Linked DNA regions of Homo sapiens: region 1 is linked to region 2. The links are contacts of gene promoters, found by promoter capture Hi-C in blood cells and fetal thymus (Javierre and others, 2016). All regions are on one chromosome and are shown on one strand. Each heading gives the region's core, a stretch centred on a gene start or on the middle of the fragment in contact. The rest is flanking DNA. Distances are from core to core; before and after follow the strand shown. Region 1 holds the start of PNPLA3 (patatin like domain 3, 1-acylglycerol-3-phosphate O-acyltransferase). Region 2 holds the start of PARVG (parvin gamma).

What was found. The method cuts DNA at HindIII sites, captures the fragments that hold promoters and counts their contacts. A CHiCAGO score of 5 or more calls a contact.
Region 1: the fragment with the promoter of PNPLA3 here is called in contact with the fragment with the promoter of PARVG in region 2 in 2 of 17 cell types (monocytes and erythroblasts); the score reaches 7.2 in monocytes.

Annotation. Positions count from the first base shown.
Region 1 is chr22:43,922,346-43,925,130 of GRCh38, reverse strand. PNPLA3 (patatin like domain 3, 1-acylglycerol-3-phosphate O-acyltransferase) reads right to left here and starts at 1,326. Exons shown (of 9, transcript NM_025225.3): 1 at 1,033-1,326. The coding sequence starts at 1,219. RefSeq lists enhancers at 24-766, 767-1,511. The HindIII fragment of the contact is 6,907 bases long and covers 1-2,785 here.
Region 2 is chr22:44,179,345-44,182,174 of GRCh38, reverse strand. It overlaps PARVG (parvin gamma), which reads right to left and starts at 1,250. Exons shown (of 14, transcript NM_022141.7): 1 at 990-1,250; 2 at 258-433. RefSeq lists enhancers at 1-532, 533-1,263 and silencers at 640-769, 1,940-1,989. The HindIII fragment of the contact is 15,489 bases long and covers 1-2,830 here.

The DNA.
Region 1 (2,785 bases), core at 77-2,576, 260 kb after region 2:
TCCAGCCCCCAGGAAGGGTCCCAAACACTGGAGGAGGAGGAGGAGGAGGAAACAACTTTCCTCTTTCAAGGTACCCCTCCCCACTAGACTCCAGTTAGCCTGCCCTGGAGGATGCCCAGGGTTGCCCTTCTGGGAGGCTACCCAGCCCCCAGAAGGCTGGGCTGCGACCCAGAGAGCGTAGGCAGCAGGGAGCAGTGGCTCACGCCTGTAACCCCAGCATTCTGGGAGGCCGAGGTGGGCAGATCACGAGGTCAGGAGATCGAGACCATCCTGGCTAACACGGTGAAACCCCGTCTCTACTAAAAAATACAAAAAATTAGCCGGGCTTGGTGGCTGGCGCCTGTAGTCCCAGCTACTCGGGAGGCTGAGGCAGGAGAATGGCGTGAACCTGGGAGGTGGAGCTTGCAGTGAGTTGAGATCACGCCACTGCACTCCAGCCTGGGCGACTGAGCGAAACTCCGTCTCAAAAAAAAAAAAAGAAAAAAAGAAAAGAAAAGCGCAGGCGCGGGGTGTCTTGAGTCCCTCAATCCCCAGAGGGAAGGAGCCCACCGTGGGGGACCGGCCAAAGCCCCACTCTTTGTCCGGCCCAGGGCAAATCGGCCCCTCGGCAGCTCAGCCCGTCCAGCCCCTCCCGAGAGGACACAGGGGACCCGGAGTCCGCAGGGGCCAGCACTACCCTCCGCCCCGGGTCCCGCTCCCTACTCCCCGTCGCTCCGAGACGCTCCGACTCTCAGTCCGGAGGTGAGGGTCTCCCTTCATGCACGGGCGCCTGATGGGGGTAGGGGTGGGGACGCACGAGAGTCCCAGGCTTCGGCCCGGACCGCTCGGGGTTCCAACGCCCCCTTCCCGGGCCCAGGAACAGCGCCCCCGCAGGAAGCATCTGCCTCGGAGGGGGCCCTCGGGATGCACCCCGCCGTGTCCGCGTCCGATGCCCGCTCCTCCAGGGCCCCGCGACCCCTGGGGATCCCCCGCTCCCCGGCCTAGGGGGCACCCACTCCGCACGTGGAGCCCGGGCAGCGTCCCCAGACGCACCCAGCGGGATACCGGAGAGGACGCCGACGCAGTGCAACGCCCCGGCCGAAGCGCCGAACAACATGCGCGCGTCGCGGAGGAGGTGCGGGGCGTGCTCGCTCAGGCAGCGGGTCGCCCCGACGTGGTAGAAGCCCAGGAAGCCGCAGCCCGCGAAGGACAAGCTCCAGCCGCGCTCTGCGTCGTACATGGCGGCGGCGGCGGGGCGGGGGCGCGGGTTAGGATCTGGGTCGGGATCGGGAATCGGCTCGGGTCCTGATCCGCAGCAGCTCCGCCCGGCGCCCGCAAGCGCTCTCTACCCTGCCTCAGTGTCTCGGCCAGGGCATTCCCAGCGCGACGTCAGCCCCGCCCCCCTCGGACCATGCAAATGAGCCGGCGGGAGGCCCAATGAGCGGGCAGGACGCCCTCCCGGGCGGGGCTTGGAGGGGGATGGGGGTGGGGACGACGTCTGGCGGGGGATGGGGGCGGGGACCGGGTCTGGGAGGGGGATTGGGGGCGGGGGCTGGGAGGGCGATGGCGGAGGACCTGTGCGGGGGGGTCCAGCCTGGGAGCTCCCCGCAGCGACTCGAGAGAAAGCATTTTTCCAAAACTCCAGCAGACACTGCATGTCCTGGAGAGAAACGGCTTCCTTCTGTTTTCCTTGACATCTGTTAAGTCGGGGGGTGGGAGGGGAGTCGCAGTTGGTGCCCACTTGATCCTTAACATCACTTTAACACTTTATCACGTCCCTTTTGACCCGGGGAGAGCCAGCCTAAAGCAGGCACCACCACCTGAAGAGTCTACTCTCTGCGTTGTTGCAGGCTTTCTGTATGATTGCCTTCAAGTGCTGGGGATTTTTTTCATTGAATGAAAGTAACAGGAAGTGTCCATTTCAAAGTTTCCTTTGTAAGTAAAAAATGTGAATGACGGGTGCTGGGGCTGGGGTCGGGGCCCTGTAGGAACTGGGGAGTGGGGAGTGCTTTGGGAAGCTGAGGCCTGGATGATTCCTGGTCCCTTAGTCCCTTAGTCCGTTCAGGTGCGAAAACAAAACACCTTAAAGCGGAGGGGCTTACAAACAAGAGATTTATTTCTATCTTTTTCCCCCCAGGCTGGAGTGCAATGGCACGATCTTGGCCCACTGCAGCCTCTTCCTCCCGGGTTCAAGGGATTCTCCTGCCTCAGCCTCACGAGTAGCTGGGATTACAAGCATGCGCCACCATGCCTGACTAATTTTTTGTATTTTTAGTAGAGATGGGGTTTCACCATGTTGGCCAGGCTAGTCTAGAACTCCTGACCTCAAGTCATCACCCACCTCAGCCTCCCAAAATGCTGGGATTACAGGGGTGAGCCACTTCGCCTGGCTTATTTCTCTGTCTCACAGTTCTGGAGGCTGGAAAGCCCAAGTTCAAGATACCAGCAGATTTGGTCCCTGGTGAGAGGTATGGCTCGTAGAAGGTGCCATCTTGCCACATCCTCACCTCTGGGCCTCTTTGATAAGGGCACCAATCCCATTCATAAGGGTGCCACCCTCTCATCAAATCACCTTCCAAAGGCCCCCGCCTCCAAAGATCATCACCTTAAGGTGTAGGATTTCAACAGATGACCTTTAGTGGGGACACAAACATTTGGATAGTAGCATGCCCTTAGGAGATGCCTAAGAGGCCCCTTGACCTTGACCTACCCCTGGCACTGGGTGGAGCAAGCCCACAGCAGTACATGGAGCCAAGTTAGACCTTGGTCCAGAGCTCCTCACTGGAGGACCCTGGTCTGCCGGGCC
Region 2 (2,830 bases), core at 1-2,500:
TTCACCTGGAGACGGAGGGGTTGGCTGAAGTTCAGAGGCGGCAACTCCTCAGTAGAACAGGGAGGGAGGACGCCGAGCAGCCTCTGAGCAGGGGCAGCCGGAGGGGCCGTGGGGACTCAAGGTCCCACTTTACCGACTCCCTTCCCCGGGTGGCCTGGGCTGGGACTGCACTCTGGGATCCTTCCCAGGTGGTGTCTGGGCCCCTCCCTCCGTGACCCCCAACACTCAAGTATGGTGGCCCCGATGCCAGAACTCACCCAACCGCTTTCCACGCAGGAAAACAAAGGCCTACTGAGTGCAAAGGGTGGTCCCTGGATTCCGAATGGAAGCAAGTTCCGGGTTCTTCTGGGGTCTTCGGGGACCAGGCCGGGAGGCAGGAGCCCCGCTGCTCACTTCCTCCAGGCCCGCTCAGCCGGCAGGAGCTTCCTCCTCTCTGCGGCAGGGCCCGAGGGGGGTGGATGCCGTGAAAGTGAAGCTGCCACAAACCTCCAGAAAGCTCTGCCCGGAGCCCCAGCGCCCGCCGTGCCGCCTGGGCCCCCGGGGTTCTGCAGGCCACTTAAACTCAATGCTTTCATTTCTCCCCCTCTCCCCGCCTTCCCCAAACCATGCCAGTTTCCCCGCAGGCTGTTCACCTCCAAAATGGCAGCTACATAGGCCAGAGCCTGGGGTCGACCCCCGCAACCCACCACCAGCACCCTGTCAGCCTGGCCTCCACCCTCCATCCCGCACCGCCGTCCTCCCACCTCCACACCCCGCCCCGGGCCAGGCCCCTTCCTCTCCCGGGACCACGCAGGAGACTCCTACCTGGACTCTCGGCTGCAGACTTCCCCACGCCCCCTGCCCGCCCCTGAGCTGAGGCTCCCACAAGCCCTCGGAGGAGTGAGTCACTTCCTGACCCCACTCACTCAAACCCACCAACGGCACCCAATAGCTCTTAAAATAAAATCCAGGCTGTGCGTGGTCTGTCTCTCTCAATCGCGGTTACATACCCGTGTCTAGAACAATGCTTGGCACAAAGTGGGCTCAGTGAATAAATATTGGTGGTGGTTGTTGCCAAGGGGATCGGGAAGGCTTTCCAGAGGAGAATGGGGCCTTGACGGCTGCATAGGAGTTTGCAGTGGAAGAAGAAGGGGTGAGAACGTGGCAGGTGGAGAAAACAGCGTATGCAAAGGCATAGCAGGGTTCGAGAAGGAGAGATCTCAGCACAGTAGATAGAGAAACACTTCAGACCCGAGCTGGTCTCTCAAGCTGGAATCTTCACCATCCGGGCTGAAATGGTGAGTTTCCCTAGCAACAGGTGACTGGGAAGCTATCTACCCTTTCTGACAGGTTAGGCAGAAAGTGGCTAAATCAGGTGGGATGCAGGTGTAAGGAGTGTGTGAGAGCAGGAAAGTAGGGTCGTTTACAAGAAGTTAATAAAAAATGACAAAACTTAGTACTGGTATTGTTGCTAATATTTATGGAGTCATTGGTGATGAAACAAACATAATTTTAAGGGCTTTCATTTTACTGGAAACTTCCTTGTGAGGTAGGTACAATCATCACCCCCATATTACAGAGGAAGACACTGAGGCACATGAGTCAGTCCCTGCCATTCTGAAGTGCCCGTGCTAGACTGGGGCTTGTAACAGGTGGGGAGAGAAGCCACCGTGCAGGACCTATTTTGCTGGGGCGTGTGTAGCAGGCTCAGCCCAGCTCTGGACACAGTGGTTCTGGTGGTGGCTTCTGACTCTGGATCACAGCCACATAGATGTAGCAGCAGTCACAGTCCCAGCAGCAAAGAGACGGTATATTCCCATGTGCTAACTGAAGACTGTTTAATAAAGGGACAGCTGGGGCAGGGTTAAAGGAACCCAGAAGAGACAGTGCTACACCCCAGGCTAGCAACATGGGGAGCTGTTACTTCTTCAAAACCTAGAGGGTGAAGGAGGGAGTGGGTGGCAGAGCCCAGGAACAGAATCACTGAAGCTCTAAGAGGGGCCTCGGGATAGGAGCTGTGGCCTTTGGTAGAGGGACACAGCCAGCTCATGGTGAACCAGCAGAAGGGCACAGCTGGAGGAATCAATGACCAAGCCTCACTCTCCTCCCTCCTGCCAGGGCCTCCCCTGCCCACATCCAGCCAGAAGCCAGAGAAAAGAAGTCCCCTGCTGCGGCCCATAGATGTGAGGAGAGAAAATGGTGGGGAGTGGATCTGCAGAGGTGAACCTAAAGCATTCAACCCAGAAAGCATGCTTCTAGGGCCAGCCTGACTCGGCAGCTTCCTTCAGGAGCCAGCTCTGCAGTATTCTTCCAAGAGTCCTTGCTGGAGGCGCTGCCTCCAGCCTTCCAACAGCTTGAGAATCACACAGCTTCCTATGTTAGATTCCTTTCTCCTCCAAACAACTGAAGAGACTCTAATCATCGGCAACTGAATCCCAATTAACTTCGGATTTGTTACCAGAAACAATTGCAGGCAACACGACCTCCAGGATGGGAACTGGGATTGGTTACTTGTTCTGGTTGATTTAAAGGCAGTGGGGACCTAGTAACTGTTAGAGAATGGAGTTCTAATAGATCGTAGCCTGTGATGGCAAAATAATTACCTGTCATCACTCAGAACGAAGTACCTATTAAATTGTGGCTTTGGCAGAGTTGTGGCTTCCATACGCAATACGAGCACAGGTTATCTAAGGACTGTGGGGTGAGCTTGTTATCATCACACCAAAGAGTTTAAAGCAAGAAAAGGACAGTCCCAGGGCTTTACATTCTCAGCTCAAGGTATGTGCAGAATACAGGGAGTTCTCTGATAGCCCTCAAAGCTATCTCTCATCTCTTGGGGCTGCAGGGCTGA